Regions from separate parts of the Homo sapiens genome. Here all the other regions are linked to region 4. The links are contacts of gene promoters, found by promoter capture Hi-C in blood cells and fetal thymus (Javierre and others, 2016). All regions are on one chromosome and are shown on one strand. Each heading gives the region's core, a stretch centred on a gene start or on the middle of the fragment in contact. The rest is flanking DNA. Distances are from core to core; before and after follow the strand shown. Region 1 overlaps ANKFY1 (ankyrin repeat and FYVE domain containing 1). Region 2 overlaps MINK1 (misshapen like kinase 1). Region 3 holds the start of C17orf107 (chromosome 17 open reading frame 107). Region 4 holds the start of GGT6 (gamma-glutamyltransferase 6). Region 5 overlaps ANKFY1 (ankyrin repeat and FYVE domain containing 1).

Region 1 (3,689 bases), core at 1,189-3,688, 340 kb after region 4:
CCCATCCATTTCAGATGTCTTGGAAAACATTTATTTAAAATTCAAACCAAAACAAAAAACTAGGCCACATAGAAAATCCTAAAGTCTCCAAAGTGTATTTACATGCATCCTGGCCTGCAGTGAAACGAAGTCAGAAGTTTCAGTGTTATTTTACTTTTCATCCTTGAAGTCAGAGATTTTTCTGGCTTGCATGCAGGGCCTTCTGAGAGATGATTACCTCCCTCACGCAGGACTCGGAGGCCAACTGCTTTCTCTTCTGAGTCTACTCCTTTTAGAGAGAACTCGTGCTTTATGCAGTCATCTGACTTTTACAACCACTTGCTTAAGTAGATTGGAAGCAGACAGTGTGGACGATTTACCCACAAGTACCCAGTTGCAGCACACACTGTCCTTCCTGATCCTTGTTCTCTGCCTACCCTTATACCACTGGCTGCTTCGTCTGAGTCACAAAGTGAATTTATTCTCAGTGTATTTTGTAGATGAGGGGAAGAGTCACGGCAGGAGTGGGAAAGCTTGTAAATCACTTGAACCTCATTTTGTTTGAAATATCAAGCCCTCCCAGGAAATCCCTACTGAAAGTAGTTTAAAAAAGTTTTTTGATAATCTAGGTTTTTGTTTATTACTTGTACAGGTCAAGATTAACCGGGCAAGTTTGCAAATAGTATTTAAGAAACTGCTACTGTAGGGAAGGTGTTTGAGGGTGTTGGTGCTGGGGATTCTCTCAGCAGATAGGAACGAGCTGTCTTCAAGATCAGGCCATGTGAGTCTAGTAGGATGTGTTTTGGGATTTTTGGTTGCTGTGGACAAATCACATGGCCTACATTTTTTTTGTTGTTCATTACGATGACTACTGAGGTATTGAACCCAATTTACAAAGCCTGCTTAGAAATTTGGCCTACTTCCAAGATCTACTATGGTGATCTTAGACAGCTTAGCTGAAGCACCTAGGTTGTTTAAATAAATCTAATTAGTTTTCTGTCTGGTGTTAAAATGTTTTCTCTTTTAAAACATTTTAAAAGTGCTACTACTGGCCGGGCAGGGTGGCTCACGCCTGTAATCCCAGCACTTTGGGAGGCCGAAGCAGGTGGATCACCTGAGGTTAGGAGTTCAAGACCAGTCTGGCTAACATGGTGAAACCCCATCTCAACTAAAAATACAAAAAAATTAGCTGGGCATGGCAGCAGGCACATGTAATCCCAGCTACGTTGGGAGTCTGAGGCAGGAGAATCTCTTGAACCCGGGAGGCAGAGGTTGCAGTGAGCTCAGATCGCGCCACTGCACTCCAGCCTGGGTGACAAGAGCAAAACTCTGTCTCAAAAAAAAGAAAAGGTGCTATTACTATATTATTCAGTGAGAGAAAAAAGAAAAACTTTAACATAGTAACTACAATATTATCATTTTAGTGTATTTCACTTTTTCTTTTTCTTTTTCTTTTTTTTTTACTTTTAATATCTGGTTGTTTTAGGAGATGGTGAATTAACCTGGTTGCAGGTAAGTCGGGGTCTTCAAGTCCACTCACTTGACATTGCCCCCTTCAAGCTGCTCCTTCCCACTCTAGTTGGAAAGGAGAGTAATCAGAGCTAATGAGCCAATTCCTAATTATGAAGTTAATAAGGTGTTCCTGGTCCTTGTTGCACCTTTCCTAGGTAATCAAGAATCAAGTACGGTTTCTGAAACCTTAGTGAGCATCAGAATCACATAGAGGACTTGTTAGGACATGTGCTGGGCCCCATCTCTGGTTTCTCATTCAGCAGGTCTGGGGTAGGACAGAGAATCAGATTTCCAATCAGTTATCAGATGAGGCTGAATCTCCTGGCCCAGGACAACACCGTGAGAATTACTTGCGTTGACCATGATTTTAAGTATTCCTCTGACCATCACTCTTCTTATTCTGACTAATCAAGAGTTAACTCTGGTTGAAATAATAGTTTAGATATTTTATACTATGATTCTCATCCCAAGCATTTCCCCAAGTTGCTGTACAGTCTTTATTTTAACTTAAAAAGATTGCACAAATAATGCATGTTCCTTAAATAAAAATAAAGCTAAAAGTAAAATTAAGCTAAAAGAAAAATTAGTTATAAATTCCACCTGGGTTGATATTTTAGTATATATCCTTCCAATCTCTTGAGAGACAGACACAGAAAAATGTGTGTCTGCCTCTCTATGTGTGTAGTGTGTAGTGTGTGTAGGTATTATATATATATGTATGCATGCATACACACACAGGTGTATCTTAACAAAAAGCAAGACCTATTTTTTTTTCTTTTTCTTTTTGAGACAGGGTCTTGCTCTGCCACCCATGCTGGAGTGCAGTGGTGCAGTCACGGCTCAGTACTGCCTCAACCTCCCGGCTCAATTTCTCTTCCCACATTGGCCCCTTGAGTAGCTGGGACTACAGACACATGCCGCCACTAATGGCATGTGCCCAGCTAATTTTTATATTTTTTGGTTTTATTTTGTTTAATTTTTTTCTTCTGTAGTTTTTGGGGAACAGGCAGTGTTTGGTTACATGGCTAAGTTCTTTAGTGGTGATTTCTGAGATTTTGGTGTAATTTTTGAATTTTTGTAAAGACAGAGGGTTTCACCATGTTGCTCACACTGGTCTTGAATTCCTGGGCTCAAGCCATCCGCCCACCTTGGCCTCCCAAAGCATTGAGATTACAGGCGTGAGCCACTGTACCCAGCCAATGAGATCTTATACAAGTATTTTTAGCCTACTTTTCAAAAAGCCTATGTAGTAAATATCTTATGTTGAATATATATCTATCTAGTTTTCATTGCATTTGTTCAGTGTGTATGTATATTGTAATTTATTTAATTAGTTCTCCATTGTTGGACTCTTACGATTTTTGTTCTAGTTCTTCATTAATAATATTGTGCTGAGCATCTTAGTACATTTTTCTTTATCTGTCCAGTTATTTTCTTTGGATAATGTCTACATATGTAGTTGCTGTGTGAAAGGTTATGTTCTTTAAAAAATCTTTGCTAGTCTGAGAGATAAAAAAATGTACTCTGATTTCAGTTTGTATTTGGTTATCAGTAAGGTTTACTAGCCATTATTTATCTTTGTGAATTACCTATTTGTATCCATTGCCCATTTTTCCATTGGGTATCCGTCTTTTTATTTTTATTTGTAAGGTCTTTTTATCATAAAGAATGTTAACTCAGGCTGGGTGAAGCGGCTCACGCCTGTAATCCTAATGCTTTAGGAGGCCGAGGCAGTTGGATTCTTTGAGCCCAGGATTTCGAGACCAGCCTGGGCAACATGGTGAAACCGTCTCTGCAAAAAATACAAAAATTAACCTGGTATGCTAGCATGCACCTGCGGTCCCAGCTACTCGGGAGGCTGAGGTGTAAGGACCACTTGAGCCCAGGGAGTTCGAGGCTTCAGTGAGGCATGATTGTGCCACTGCATTCCAGCCTGGGTGACGTAGTGAGACCCTGTCTCAAAAAGAAAAAAAAAATAATGTTAATTCTTTGTCATATGTTTCAAATATTTTCCCCAATTTATTCGACATATCTTTAGTAGGTTTATTTCCTCACTCACTGCCCACTGCGAAAGTTTAGTCAGATGTTGCCCAGACTGCTGAGTCACCTTTTTTTTGAGACGGAGTCTCCCTCTGTCACCCAGGCTGGAGTGCAGTGGCTCAATCTCTGCTCACTGCAACCTCCGTCTCCCGGGTTCA
Region 2 (3,593 bases), core at 250-2,749, 280 kb before region 4:
CATCACAGTGATCTACCCAGCGGCCCTACATTTAGAAATCTCTATTAGTTCTGGGTACGAGCCCCGTGGAGCTCTGTATTCCCAACATGTGCTCCCCAGTGCCAACCCACCACCTGTTCAGCTCAGGCTGAGGTCACTCACTCTCCCCACCTCAAAAAGACCCAGGTATACGAATAAAAGGTGTCCTCTATTAAGACACAGATCTAGAGGCCAAGTGCTCCTGGAGGGCAGTAACTATCTCTCATACAGACTGTCTCCAGCCCATGAAACAGGCCATATTCCAAAAGTCTCCAAAAACTTTACCAAGAAACGTTATGGATAATGTTTTAGTCCTCAGTAAGCCCACAAAGCCTGTTTACCATAAGTCACAGAAATATCACACATTTACAATTAAAACAGGCAGGCCGGGCACGGTGGCTCACATTTGTAATCCCAGCACTTTGGGAGGCCGAGGTGGGTGGATCACCTGAGGTCAGGAGTTCGAGACCAGCCTGACCAACATGGTGAAACCCTGTCTCTACTAAAAATACAAAAATTAGCCAGGTGTGGTGGTGCGCACCTGTAATCCCAGCTACTCGGGAGGCTGAGACAGGAGGATCTTGAACCTGGGAGGTGGAGGTTGCAGTGAGCCTAGATCGCACCACTGTACTTCAGCCTGGGCAACAGAGCAAGAGTTCATCTCAAAAAAAGCAAAAAGAAACCAAAAAACAGGCAGAAAACAATACCAGTTGCATGTAGTCTAGAGTGCCAGCTACACACTGCCCTCCTGTCCTCCCCTCAGTGCCCACCCCCAAATACCCACCGCCACGTGGGAGCAGGTCTCCCTCCAACAGCATGGCAGCCCAGGTTTTGGAGTCAGACTTGAGTCTGAATGTGGGCTCTGCTGCTTACTGGCTGTCCAACCTCAGGCAAGTTACTTAACTTCCAAGTTAATTTCTGTAAGCTTTGGTTTCTTCATCTTGCAAATGAGGATAATATTGTCCACCTCAAAGGGTTCTTGTGAGGGACAATGAGATTACAGAAGGAAAGAACCTACTGCACAGTAAGTGTTCATTACGGTTCTTATTCCAACCCCAAACACCCCCTTCTGAAATGAATCTGCATCATAATATAAATGACTTTATCACAGCAATCTTTGTTCCAAACAGAAGACAGACAGAAAAAGGACTTACTAGAACCAACCAACTTCCTTTTTTTTCTTTTTCTTTTTCTTTCTTTTTTTTTTGTGACGGAGTCTCGTTCTGTCGCCCAGGCTGGAGTGCAGTGACGCAATCTAGGCTCACTGCAACCTCCGCCTCCTGAGTTCAAGCGATTCTCCTGCCTCACCCTCCCCAGTAGCTGGGATTACAGGTGCCTCCCACCATGCCTGGCTAATTTTTTGTATTTTTAGTAGAGACAGGGTTTCACTATGTTGGCCAGGCTGGTCTCGAACTCCTGACCTCAAGTAATCTGCCTGCCTCAGCCTCCCAAAGTGCTGGGATTACAGGCATGAGCCACTGCGCCCAGCCCAAACCAACTTCTGATCCACATCCTGCCTGTTCCCCCTACCCTGCTTCGACACGTGGGGCTCAGGTAGTTTCCACTGTGAGGAATGACCTTGTTAAGGTTAGGCGGACTCTCTCCACCTCCTCCAAACCTTAGCTACCCAAGGCCAGGAGCCTACCAAGTTCTGCTCTCTTGACTGGGACTGGGAAACAGCGAGCTGTGGAAGGCAGCTCTGCACAGCTCCAGCTCATCCCGCTCAGCTGTGCTGCTTCCCAGCCACTGGTCCACCCTGAAAGGATACACTAGGGCAAGGTGTCTTCTACTGTCTCTGGTCACTCCCCCAGATGTAAGTAATGACATTCATTCACCACACCTCTGTCTTCAAAAAGACAAGTGTAGGATGAAAAGACCCCAGAGAAGAGACGATGTGCTGGCCCCTCTCTAAGACGCCACATGCACCTGCCTATCTTTGCCTCACGCTGCTTAGGCTTTGGGGCACTCTGTCCAACTGTTTTCTTGAAGACTCTTTCCTGAGTCACTTAGAACTAAAGACTAAGTATTGCAAGCTTCAGCCACTTTCTTAAAAATGTGCCTTGAAAGAAAGAGTGGGTGGGTGGTGAAAAGAGAACATGAAAATCTTCCTTACAGTCTGGCTGGGAGCCTACCTATTTTACCTCCAGAGGTATGCTAGCAGACAAAAGCTGCTAGATATGTGCCATGCACAAGGGTAATTTAGAGCCCACATTCCTCTCTCTACCTGGAAAGAAGTACACAGGGGACTTAGGAACTACTTCCTACTTCATGGAAGAAACCTGTCCAGTCCCTCCCCGGGTCTCTCCCATGTCCATAACAAGTTCATGAGAGGTACCAGTGGCAATACGGGTGGAAAAACAGTTCTTCGATGCACTGTCCCAGACTCTGCCAGATGGTTAACATCCCCAATCCCCATGTGCTAAATGCCGTTAGTGCTCCCAAGGCAGTTTTTTTTTTTTTTTGGACAGAGTCTCGCTCTGTCGCCCAGGCTGGAGTGCAGTGGCGTGGTCTAGGCTCACTACAAGCTCCGCCTCCCGGGTTCATGCCATTCTCCTGCCTCAGCCTCCCAAGTAGCTGGGACTACAGGCGCCCACCACCGCGCCCGGCTAATTTTTTTTTGTATTTTTAGTAGAGACGGGGTTTCACCGTGTTAGCCAGGATGGTCTCGATCTCCTGACCTCGTGATCCGCCCGCCTCGGCCTCCCAAAGTGCTGGGATTACAGGCGTGAGCCACCGTGCCCGGTGCTCCCAAGACAGTTAATCCTCCCTCCTCAGCATTTCCGAACACCCCCTGGAGGCCAGCGGTGCCCTGGCTGAGAACCAGAGTCAGCACCTGTACTGCTTTGTATCCCACCGTGCCCAGCATATACTGGGCACCCTGTACTAATTGTGGATTGAATCTAGTAGGAAAGGTCCAGTCACAGACATACTTAGATCCATGTCTCTTACCAAGTAATTTCTGAACCCCTACTGTGTGCTCAGCATCTTTACAGGGATCAAGAGGAAATATGGATCACAGTCTCTACACATAAGGAAGTGGTAGGAAAAACAAGACCATAAAACATTATTCAATATAAGGCAATATATAAGCCAATGCTAAATTGTAAGGTCTGTGAGAAAGTGGATGATGTGATCAGTAAAGGCTGGCAAAATCGGAGGGGGGGCTTTGTGGGAAAAAAACATAAGTTGAGGTGGCTCTTGAAGGAGGTGGGATTGTCTTCATTCAGCCCTACCGATCCTCAGTCTGTCCCTGCCAGGACCGCTGTTCATAGAAAACTCCTCTAAGCCTGTGGTTCTAGGAGCAATTCGGCAACCCAAGCCCTTCAAATCCCATCCCCAGGTGGTTCCTGGAACAAGACGGTGTGAGAAATTTCCCATTCTTTGTCAGAAGACCAGAGAATATCAGGCCTGCTTTCAGGAGGCCTGCTCATCCCAAAGGCAATGGAAGAAACCACTGGCGGAAGTGCCCGTGCGGAGATGCCCAAGACAGAACCAAAAAGCATTTGGTGCTACGTGTACATACTGAGTCACAGGCTCTAAGTGCTGGGGCCCCCAGTTGTGACCACAGACACTCC
Region 3 (2,500 bases), core at 1-2,500, 340 kb before region 4:
CGGAGCCCCCGCGGGGGTGTGGCCAGTGTGAAGGGTGGGGGCGTGGCCAAAACCCAGAGACCCCGGGAAAAGCTCTGGCTGTCTCGCCCCGCCCTGGGCTTTATTCGGACGCTGGGTGGGGCTGGTACGGGGATGGAGTCCCTGGTCCGCCGTCCTCCTCACTGCTGCTGGACGTCACCTGGAGGTCTCCCGAGTAGCTCTCTTGGGGGACAGTCCGGCTCAGTGCCTCCCTAGCCCCGCCGCCTCTGGCCCCTAACTCACCCCGTGTCCTGAGCTCACCGGTTCTCCGGGGATTCCGAGGCCTAGCTGCTGTTGCGACTGTCGCAGGAATGAGGCAGACCCCTGCAGACCCCGTCCACACAGGCATAGCCATGCTCCCTGGACTAGGAGCCGGGCGCTGGCGCCCACCGCAGCCCCAGCTTGCCGAACCCCCTGCCCTGCGGCTTGGGCTACCCGGCTCAGCGCTGCACCCGGATCCCTGCCGTCTGGGGCTGGGCCCGCGCTGCCGTCTAGTCGCCGCGCCTCCTGCTGCAGCCACAGGGCTGAGATCTGCATTGGGGGCACAGGGGTTAGCGGGGAGGCAGAGGTCCTTGTTCCCGCTACCCGATCGCCGCGTATCCTAAGCCCCCCAGTACCCCACCTCTAACAAGGTGGTGCCGAAGCTCACGAGGCTGGCTGTGGCTTCTCTCAACACCAGCCCCAGGGTGGGCTTCGGGGCAGGCAGCATCCCCTGCATCTTCGGTTCGGGTGGCTCCAGGGACTTCAGCTCTCTGAACCTCTGCTCCAGATATTCATGGGCTGCGGCCACGGAGAGTTCCAGGGAAGACAGAAGCGGGGGCTGGAGGGCCACCTGGAGAAGGAGCAGAGCAGTAGAGTAGCAGGGCAGGGGTCACAGGGGCGAACAGGAGACCTACCCAGAAGGTCTCGAGGTGCAGCCCTTGGCGGGCGTAGCCTCACCTCGGTGGAGCTGTGGAAGTGGTAGATCCACATCAGGGTGTCCAGGGAGCTGGGGGTCCCCTTCATGGCCGCCACAAGTGGTAGGACAGGAGAAGGGCTGGGGGACGCGTCTGTCGTCGTGTAGGGGGCGCAGCTGGAGGGCGTAACCAGCCCGTACCAGGAGAAGCCGTGTTTGTGAGGTCAGCGCGCGGCGCCTTCGGTAGCTGGGAGGAGGAACGGTGATGTCATGCCTTCCGGGCTCCTCAGGTTCCTTATTTTCGTCATGGTGGTCGCCACGCTCATTGTCATGAATTGCGTCATCGTGCTCAACGTGTCCCAGCGGACGCCCACCACCCACGCCATGTCCCCGCGGCTGCGCCACGTAAGCGCGGAGGGGGCGGTGCAGCCCGGGTCGGGGTGGGGCTTCGTACTAACCTCGTCCCCTAAGCCCCGCCCCTGCCCCAGGTTCTCCTGGAGCTGCTGCCGCGCCTCCTGGGCTCCCCGCCGCCGCCCGAGGCCCCCCGGGCCGCCTCGCCCCCAAGGCGGGCGTCGTCGGTGGGCTTATTGCTCCGCGCGGAGGAGCTGATACTGAAAAAGCCACGGAGCGAGCTCGTGTTTGAGGGGCAGAGGCACCGGCAGGGGACCTGGACGGGTGAGCACAGTGGCCCTGGCCCGGGGGGCCGCGCGGGGTGCCTGCCAGGGGGGAGGCTCCTAAGGCCCACCCCGGTGTTTTCCCCGCCAGCTGCCTTCTGCCAGAGCCTGGGCGCCGCCGCCCCCGAGGTCCGCTGCTGTGTGGATGCCGTGAACTTCGTGGCCGAGAGCACGAGAGATCAGGAGGCCACCGGCGAGGTGGGACAGGAGCCAGAGGCGGGTGGAGCGAGGCAGAGGCCCACCACTGTCTCCCATGCCGCTGGCTCCTGCAGCTGCCTCTTTACTGACTGTGCCGACCCTTCCCCAGGAAGTGTCCGACTGGGTGCGCATGGGGAATGCCCTTGACAACATCTGCTTCTGGGCCGCTCTGGTGCTCTTCAGCGTGGGCTCCAGCCTCATCTTCCTCGGGGCCTACTTCAACCGAGTGCCTGATCTCCCCTACGCGCCGTGTATCCAGCCTTAGCTCGCACCGACTTCAATTTCCCACCCATCTCCAGTAGGAAATTGATTTTGAAAAAGTAGGCTGCCGCCACCACGGCATTATGATCCCTTCCCCCTGCTGATCAATCTGCAGTTTGTGAACTTCACAAGAATGGTGTGTGCCCGTTCCCTGGCGTGTGTAGGCCTGGCCGCAGTCCAGGGGTCAGCAGGAGGAAAGGGTTCACATAGGCTCTCAGGTGCCAGTCTTCCAGAAAGCAAGGACTGCCCTTCATTCAGCCTTGCTGACCTCCCAGCCTTTCTAAGGCTCAGCCCCACGGGACTCTGGTGGCTGCCAGCTTGTGAGCTATCTATCTATATTCATTTCATAGCCAAACAGGAGACCCCTTTGCAGGACTTGCACACAGGGAGGCTGTAGCCAGGAAACCCTCTTCTTCCCTGGTCTGGCTCTGCTGGAGCGGGTGGGAACCAAACA
Region 4 (3,924 bases), core at 118-2,617:
CAATATTCACATAGAAAAGTACACGTCATCAATGCCCAACTCAATGCATTTTCACACCCAGGGCACTCGTGTCACCAACACTCAGATTAAGAAACAACATCTCGGCCGGGCGCGGTGGCTCACACCCGTAATCCTAGTACTTTTGGGAGGCTGAGGCGGGCGGATCACCTGAGGTCAAGAGTTCAAGACCAGGCTGGCCAACATGGTGAAACCCTGTCTCTACTAAAAATACAAAAAATTAGCCAGGCGTGGTGGCATGTGCCTGTAATCCCAGCTACTCGGGAGGCTGAGGCAGAAGAATTGCTTGAACCCAGGAGGTGGAAGTTGCAGTGAGCTGAGATTGCACCATTGCACTCCAGCCTGGGCAACAAGAATGAAAACTCTGTCAAGAAAGAAAGAAGAGAAAGAAAAGAAAGGTAAAGGAAAAAGGAAAGGAAAGAAAGGAAGGAAAGAAAGGACATCTCCAGCATTCCAGAAACCCCCTGGTACCTCCTCCAGTCACTATCTGACTTCTAAGGGCAGACTGTTGTTGCTCTTTTGTTGTTGCCTGTTTGTGTACTTTGTGTAAATGAAAGCATATAGCGTGCGCTGTCTCCTGCCTGGCTGCTTTCCCTCGTCCTTATGCTTGTCAGACCTGTGTATATTATTGCATATAATTGTAGATCACTCACTCTCTTTGCTGCAGAGTGGTCCATTGTGACTTACATCATTCATTCTAACGATAATGGATGTTTGGGCACTTTCCAATTTGGGACTGTTACAAACAGCACTGTTTTGCAACAAGTCCTTGATGGGAATCCCAGAATGAATTTAGAAATGTTGGTTTCCAGGCTGTGGCGCTACCTTCTGGACAAGAGTCGCAAAACACGCACAGGGAGTTACGAACCAAGTTGCTCCTCAAAGAAACCCAGACCCAGAGTAGCCACAGGCTGAGCCTTGACCCCGGCCAGAGACCAGACACCCCTACGCCAGAACCTAGTCACGTGCAGACTCAAGCACGTGGGAGCTCTGACCCAAGCCACCGTGAAACCGTAGCTCTAATTCAAGTCCACAGTCCCTAGAGTCCCAGGTGGGTGGGATCCATGGGCTACATCCCCCAAGGGGAGGAGCCCAGCAGGTGCCCTGAGTATCAAGGTTGTGGCATTAAGGCTGAACTCCTTCTCGACCTCACTGAGCTGTGGCCCCTTACAGGCAGTCACCCCGGGAACCCTGTCGCGAGAGCTCCTCGGGCCTTGTGTCCTAATGGGGCAGGCTCACATGCAGCCTCCTTGGCCCCGTGCCCTGCCCAGACCTGTTCTGGATTCCACCCCCACCCTTCCCCAAGGTCGCTGCCACCTCCCACCTGCCAGGCTTGGGCAGGGCCTCTGAGACACAGCCGGAAAGGCTGGCAGGCAGGAGGGCTGGGGCGAGCACTGGGGGGCCATGGAGCGGGCAGAAGAGCCCGTGGTCTATCAGAAGCTGCTGCCCTGGGAGCCAAGCTTGGAGTCGGAGGAGGAAGTGGAGGAGGAGGAGACATCAGAGGCGCTGGTTCTAAACCCCCGGAGGCACCAGGACTCTTCCAGGTAAGTAAGGGAGGGGTCTGGGCACCAGGCTCCCCAGGCTTGAGGTTGGCAAGTCCCTCTCTCTGGAGCCCCTCAGGGGGACCAGGCGACTCCCCGCTGGGTTTAGCTCCAGGCACTGTACGGTCAATTTGGGGGAAAACCCAGGCTGTAGCCCGAGACTTGGCCTGACCCAATCAAAAGTCTGTGCATCTGGAGGGACATTTGTACCAAGCCAGCCTCTGTCCCATCTGCTGCTTTGTCAAAGGTCCCCAGCCCCCAAGTCCTGGTGCAGGAGGCACCTGCTGGGCAGGTTGGGGCCTGACTACGCCTGGCTGGGCCTGCTCCCCAGCCCCTTCTCTCCTGCCTGCCACACCCCACTGGGCCTCCCTCCCACCTGAGTGGACTCTGCCCCACCAATCTCCCCTCCAGAGGCTCCCTCCCTAGCTAGGCTCAGTTTCCCCAGATGCTTTCCCATCCCCATGTCTGCCCAAGATGCACCCGCTGCCAAGAAGCCCTTTCTCCTTGGCTGACTTGTGCTCCTCTTGCTAAATCAAACCTTTTGGGAAATATTCCCTGGGGTCTCTTGGGGTCCTTGGGCATCCCTCTGTCCCAGCCGTGGCTCAGGACACCCCCCCTCTGCAGGAACAAGGCTGGCGGGCTGCCCGGAACCTGGGCCCGTGTAGTGGCAGCCCTGCTGCTGCTGGCTGTTGGCTGCTCCCTGGCTGTGAGGCAGCTCCAGAATCAGGGCAGGTCGACAGGAAGCTTGGGCTCTGTGGCCCCTCCACCCGGCGGACACTCCCACGGCCCTGGCGTATACCACCACGGTGCCATCATCAGCCCTGCAGGTCAGTCAGTGCTGGGGGCGGCTTGGGGAGGGGAGGGTCAGGGGTCACCAGCCCAGCCTAGCCCCCCTCCTTGCTGCATGACAGTGCCTTCCTTGCTGCAGCCACATGCTCCCACCTAGGCCGAGAGCTGCTTGTTGCCGGGGGCAACGTCGTGGATGCTGGAGTTGGAGCTGCATTGTGCCTGGCAGTGGTGCATCCTCATGCCACGGGGCTAGGTCAGTGACCCCTGACCCCAGACTGCAACCCCAACCCACAGCCTGATCAGTGACCTGGAACTTAGGGAGTCAGTAGCACTGACCTCAAGACTGCTAAGTGAGCAGGACTTAGGGTTTGGGCAGCAGTCCAACCCCAGGCTATGACCCTTGAGCCCGGGTCTGTGGAACTTTGACCTCAGGCCTGGTCAGTAACTCCTGATCCCAGGCTCAGTCAAGGGATCTTGACTGAAACAAGTCAGTGACCCTTGACCTGCGGCTGCTGAGGGACCCCTCTGTCTCCTGCAGGTGCCATGTTTTGGGGCCTCTTCCACGATAGCTCCTCAGGCAATTCCACGGCCCTGACATCAGGCCCAGCACAGACCCTGGCCCCCGGCCTGGGGCTGCCCGCGGCTCTGCCCACCCTGCACCTGCTGCATGCACGCTTCGGCCGCCTGCCCTGGCCACGCCTGCTAGTGGGCCCCACCACGCTGGCTCAGGAGGGCTTCCTGGTGGACACACCCCTGGCAAGGGCTCTGGTGGCTCGGGGCACAGAAGGCCTCTGTCCACTACTTTGCCATGCTGATGGGACACCCCTGGGCGCTGGGGCCCGAGCCACCAACCCACAACTGGCAGCTGTGCTTCGCAGCGCAGCCCTCGCTCCCACCTCAGACCTTGCTGGGGATGCTCTACTGAGTCTACTGGCGGGAGACCTGGGGGTGGAGGTGCCCTCGGCTGTGCCCAGGCCCACTTTGGAACCAGCAGAGCAGCTACCTGTGCCCCAGGGCATCCTGTTCACCACCCCCAGTCCCTCAGCTGGCCCAGAACTGCTGGCACTGTTGGAGGCAGCCCTGCGCTCCGGGGCGCCCATCCCTGACCCCTGCCCACCGTTCCTGCAGACTGCTGTGAGCCCCGAGAGCAGTGCCCTGGCCGCCGTGGACAGCAGCGGCTCTGTGCTCCTTCTCACCTCCTCGCTCAACTGCTCCTTTGGCTCTGCACACCTGTCCCCAAGCACTGGGGTTCTGCTCAGCAACCTGGTGGCCAAGTCTACCACTAGTGCCTGGGCCTGCCCCCTCATCCTCCGTGGCAGCCTGGATGACACAGAGGCTGATGTGTTGGGGCTTGTGGCTTCAGGGACCCCTGATGTGGCCAGGGCCATGACTCACACCCTACTCAGGCATCTGGCAGCAAGGCCCCCTACCCAGGCCCAGCACCAGCATCAGGGTCAGCAAGAACCAACAGAGCATCCCAGCACTTGTGGCCAAGGGACCCTGCTCCAGGTGGCAGCCCACACAGAGCACGCCCATGTCTCCAGTGTCCCCCATGCCTGCTGCCCCTTCCAGGGGT
Region 5 (3,789 bases), core at 1,212-3,711, 310 kb after region 4:
CAGAATGCCACATTAGGAAACTGGTACTTTTGTAGACAGTGGGGAACCAGCTGAAATTGTTTGGTTAGGTGAGCTGTGTTTTAGGAAGATTAATAACGATGTGTGTGGGATAGAATAGAGAAGTAGAAGGATGAGAAGGGCAACAGGAATGATGCTAAGGCCTCAAGGAAATGTTGGTGTGATCAGCAAGGAATAGAAAGATGTCACGGTACATCCCAGAGGAAGGAGTTTGTTGTTAGATTTATTGAGGTGTAATTGACAAACAATAAAATGTACCAATTTAAACTGTCAGTTGACAAATATATACAGTCATATAACCACCAGCACAATCATGCTAGAAGATTTCTATCACCGTAAAAAGTTCCCTTGACCTCCTTTGCAGTCAGTCCCATTCCCCTGGCTTCTGGCAATCACTGATTTGCTTTCTCTTGCTATAGTTTGCCTAGTATGGTTTGTTGTTGTTGTTGTTGTTGTTGAGATGGAGTCTGGCTCTGTCGCCCAGGCTGGAGTGCAGTGGCTTGATCTCAGCTCACTGCATCCTCTGCCTCCTGGGTTCAAGCGATTCTCCTGCCTCAGCCTCCCAAGTAGCTGGGATTACAAGTGTGTGCCACCCTGGTCCGGCTAATTTTTGTATTTTTAGTACAGACAGGGTTTCACCATGTTGGCCAGGCTGGTCTCGAACTCCTGACCTCAAGTGATCCTGGTTTGCCTACTATGAAACTACACTTTCATATGGGGTCATACAGTATGTAGTCTTTTTTGCCTGGCTCCTTTCACGTAGCATATTGCTTTTGAGATACATCTGTACCTCATGTGTCTGGTATCAGTCCCTTCTGTTTTATTGCTGAGTGCTCTTCCATTATATGGATGTGTGACAGTTGTGTCTGTTTACCAGCTGGACATTCCGGTTGTTTCCAGTTGTTATGAATAAAGCTTCATTGAACATTTAAATAGAATTCTTTGTGTTTATTTTGAGGAAATAACTGGGAGTGGAATTGTTGGCCATAAGGCAAGTATATGTTTAGCTTTATAAGAAACCATCAAACTGTTTTCCAGAATGGTTATGCCATTTTGCATTTCCATTAGCAATGTATCAGGCTTCTAGCTTCTAGTTCTCCAATTTTTTTTTTGTTTGTTTGTTTTTTGTTACCCAGGCTGGGGTGCAGTGGTATGATCATAGCTCACTGCAGCCTCGAACTCCTGGGCTCAAGCAGTCCTTCCATCTCAGCCTCTCAAGTGGCTAGGACTGCAGGTGCACACCACCACACTTGGCTAATTTTTAAAATTTTTTTGTGGAGACGGGGGTCTCACTCTGTTGCCCAGCTGTTCTCAAACTCCTAGCTTCAAGCTGTTCTCCCGCCTCAGCCTTCCAAACTTTTGGGATTATAGGTGTGAACCACTGCGCTTGGCCTAGTTCTCCAGATCTTTGCCATAACTTTTTAATTTTAGCCATACTAGTAGGTGTGTAGTGGTATTTCATTGTGATTTCAATTTGCATCTTAATTACTAATGATGCACATCTTTTCATGTGCTTATTTACTGTACATTTATCTTGTTTGGTGAACTCTCCAGTTTTTTTGCTCTTTTTTATCGGGTTGTCTTATTGAGCTGTAAGAGTTCTTAATATAATCTGTATACAAGTCTTTTTTTTTTTTTTTTTTTAAGACGGAGTCTCGTTCTGTTGCCCAGGGTTGAGTGCAGTGGTATGATCTCAGCTCACTGCAACCTCTGTCTCCCGGATTCAAGTGATTCCCCTGCCTCATCCTCCCTAGTAGCTGGGACTACAGGCGCACGCCACTGCACCCAGCTAATTTTTGTGTTTTTGTAGAGACGGGGTTTTGCCATGTTGGCCAGGCTGGTCTCAAACTCCTGACCTCAAGTGATCCATCCACCTTGGCCTCCCAAAGTGCTGGGATTACAGGCTGGGAATGAGGCGTTTTTTGTTGGATGTTTTGCACATATTTTCTCCCAGTCTGTGGCTTGCCTTTTTATTTTTTTATGACTTTTCAAGAACAGTTTTTAAAATTTGGTAAAGTCAAATTTAGCCATGTTTCTTCTGTAATTTTTTTTTAACAGTTTATCTTTGTTTAATCTGAGGTCACTAAGATTTTTGCTATGTTTTAGTCTGGAAGTTCTGTAGTTTTTGTTTTTTTTTTTTTTAATTTTTATTTAATTTTTAAAAATTTTACCTGTCAATGATTTGAAGCTCATTTTTAAAAATTGTTTTCTTTTTGTTTTTGTTTTTAAAGAGACAGGAAGATGGGGTTTCCCAGGCTGGAGTGCAGTGGCTATTCACAGATGTGATCATAGTGCTTTATAGCCTCAAACTCCTGAGCTCAAGTGATCCTTCCTCCCCAGCCTCCTGAGTAGCTGGGACTTCATCTGACTCTAGAAGGGCTACAGTTTTAACCCTTACGTTTAGATATGTGATTTTGAGTTAGTTTTTATATGTAGTGGTGTCTAGGAATAGGGATTTGCGTTTTCATATGGATCTCCAATTGTTCTGGTCCCATTGTTCTTTCCTCATTGAAATGCCTTCACACCATTGTCAGATCATTTGTATAAGTCAAAGTCTATTCCTGGATTCTGTTATTTTCCATTGCTCTGGATATCTATCTTGATGCCAGTTTGATGCTGTCCTATTTACTGTAGCTTTATACACAGCCTTGAGTCAGGTAAATGCTAAACCTTTTTCTTTCCCCTGCCCAGAATTTTTTTGGCTATTCTAGGAACTTTGCATTTCCACCCAAATTTTAGAATCAGCTGTCTGTGGTTATGCATGCATGTAATCCCAGCAGTTTAAAAGACCAAAGTGGGAGGATCCCTTGAGGCCAGGAGTTCAAGACCAGCTTGGGCGCCATACTGAGACCCTGTCTCTACAAAAAAATTGGCCAGATGTGGTGGTGCTCACCTGTAGTTCTAGCTGTTTGAGCCTAGGAGTTCGAGGCTGCAGTGAGTTATGATCAGGACACTGCACCCCAGCCTGGGTGACAGAGGGAGACCCTGTTTCTAAGAAAAAAAAATTAGAATCATTCTTTCAAATTCTACAAACACAGTTTGCTGGGATTTTTATTGGGAAGGTATTGGATCTATAGACCAATTTGGAGAGACCTGACATCTTAACAATATTGAGCTATTGAGCCTTCCAATCCATGAGCGTAGTATATAACTCTCTGTTTATTTAGGTTGCCTTTCATTTCTGTCAGCAGTGTTTTTATAGTTTCAGTGTGCATGCATTGCACATTTTGTTAAGTTTATCTCTAAATATTTTGTATGTTTGGTATACTATTAAAAATGCATTATCATAGCCCGTACATTGGTAACCTAGAGCTTTGATAACATGAAATGAAGTAGGAAGAAGACTTTGATTTGAGGAAGATATGAAGTTTGATTTTGGACTTGTCGAGTTTATAGTAGCAGTCAGTCATTCTTTCAGCAGGAGCTGTTGAAGGAAAGAGAGATTTGGGTCCATTTTTATAGCAGTGACAGTAAAGTATGGGTATGCATGAGACCATGTTCAGGGAAGAAAATTTAGAAAAAGTTCAGATGTAGGTCTGCACCTTGCAGCACTGTGCCGTTTTAGAAAGTGGGTAGTCAGAATAGGAGGTGAAGGGTCTGTAACAAGGTTAGGAAGAAAGCTAGAGTACAGAGTTAGGAAGCCAAAACAAGAGTTTTAAGAATGGGGTGGTTGAGAGTCGGAGGCTACAGAGAGGTTGAGGAGCTTGAAGAATAAGGAAAAGGTCATCAAAGTGGGTGATTTGATCATTGTGACTATTTAGTAGAGTGATG

Evidence for each region. Contacts are between HindIII fragments. The CHiCAGO score rates a contact against its expected background, and 5 or more counts as called.
Region 1: a contact is called between a fragment that was not itself captured here and the fragment with the promoter of GGT6 in region 4, in 1 of 17 cell types (M2 macrophages). The highest score is 5.4, in M2 macrophages.
Region 2: a fragment that was not itself captured here is called in contact with the fragment with the promoter of GGT6 in region 4 in 3 of 17 cell types (M2 macrophages, M1 macrophages and M0 macrophages); the score reaches 6.4 in M2 macrophages.
Region 3: a contact is called between the fragment with the promoter of C17orf107 here and the fragment with the promoter of GGT6 in region 4, in 4 of 17 cell types (neutrophils, M0 macrophages, erythroblasts and 1 more). The highest score is 13.6, in neutrophils.
Region 5: a fragment that was not itself captured here is called in contact with the fragment with the promoter of GGT6 in region 4 in 1 of 17 cell types (M2 macrophages); the score reaches 5.1 in M2 macrophages.

Annotation. Positions count from the first base shown.
Region 1 is chr17:4,217,465-4,221,153 of GRCh38, reverse strand. All of the region lies in intron 3 of ANKFY1 (ankyrin repeat and FYVE domain containing 1), which reads left to right. Among named protein-coding and RNA genes, the nearest start is that of ANKFY1, 45 kb to the left of the region's middle. The HindIII fragment of the contact is 3,847 bases long and covers 515-3,689 here.
Region 2 is chr17:4,841,110-4,844,702 of GRCh38, reverse strand. The region is part of intron 1 of MINK1 (misshapen like kinase 1); the gene reads right to left. Among named protein-coding and RNA genes, the nearest start is that of MINK1, 9.6 kb to the right of the region's middle. The HindIII fragment of the contact is 1,108 bases long and covers 946-2,053 here.
Region 3 is chr17:4,898,286-4,900,785 of GRCh38, reverse strand. C17orf107 (chromosome 17 open reading frame 107) reads right to left here and starts at 1,250. Exons shown (of 3, transcript NM_001145536.2): 1 at 958-1,250; 2 at 641-850; 3 at 1-549. The coding sequence starts at 1,023. The coding sequence ends at 253. CHRNE (cholinergic receptor nicotinic epsilon subunit) reads left to right here. Exons shown (of 12, transcript NM_000080.4): 9 at 1,204-1,318; 10 at 1,402-1,588; 11 at 1,679-1,785; 12 at 1,895-2,500. The coding sequence ends at 2,050. RefSeq lists an enhancer at 864-1,173 and silencers at 1,374-1,483, 1,504-1,653. The HindIII fragment of the contact is 47,734 bases long and covers 1-2,500 here.
Region 4 is chr17:4,558,020-4,561,943 of GRCh38, reverse strand. GGT6 (gamma-glutamyltransferase 6) reads left to right here and starts at 1,367. Exons shown (of 4, transcript NM_001288702.2): 1 at 1,367-1,562; 2 at 2,184-2,386; 3 at 2,488-2,601; 4 at 2,887-3,924. The coding sequence starts at 1,423. The HindIII fragment of the contact is 2,996 bases long and covers 1-1,480 here.
Region 5 is chr17:4,249,907-4,253,695 of GRCh38, reverse strand. All of the region lies in intron 1 of ANKFY1 (ankyrin repeat and FYVE domain containing 1), which reads left to right. Among named protein-coding and RNA genes, the nearest start is that of ANKFY1, 12 kb to the left of the region's middle. The HindIII fragment of the contact is 3,051 bases long and covers 936-3,789 here.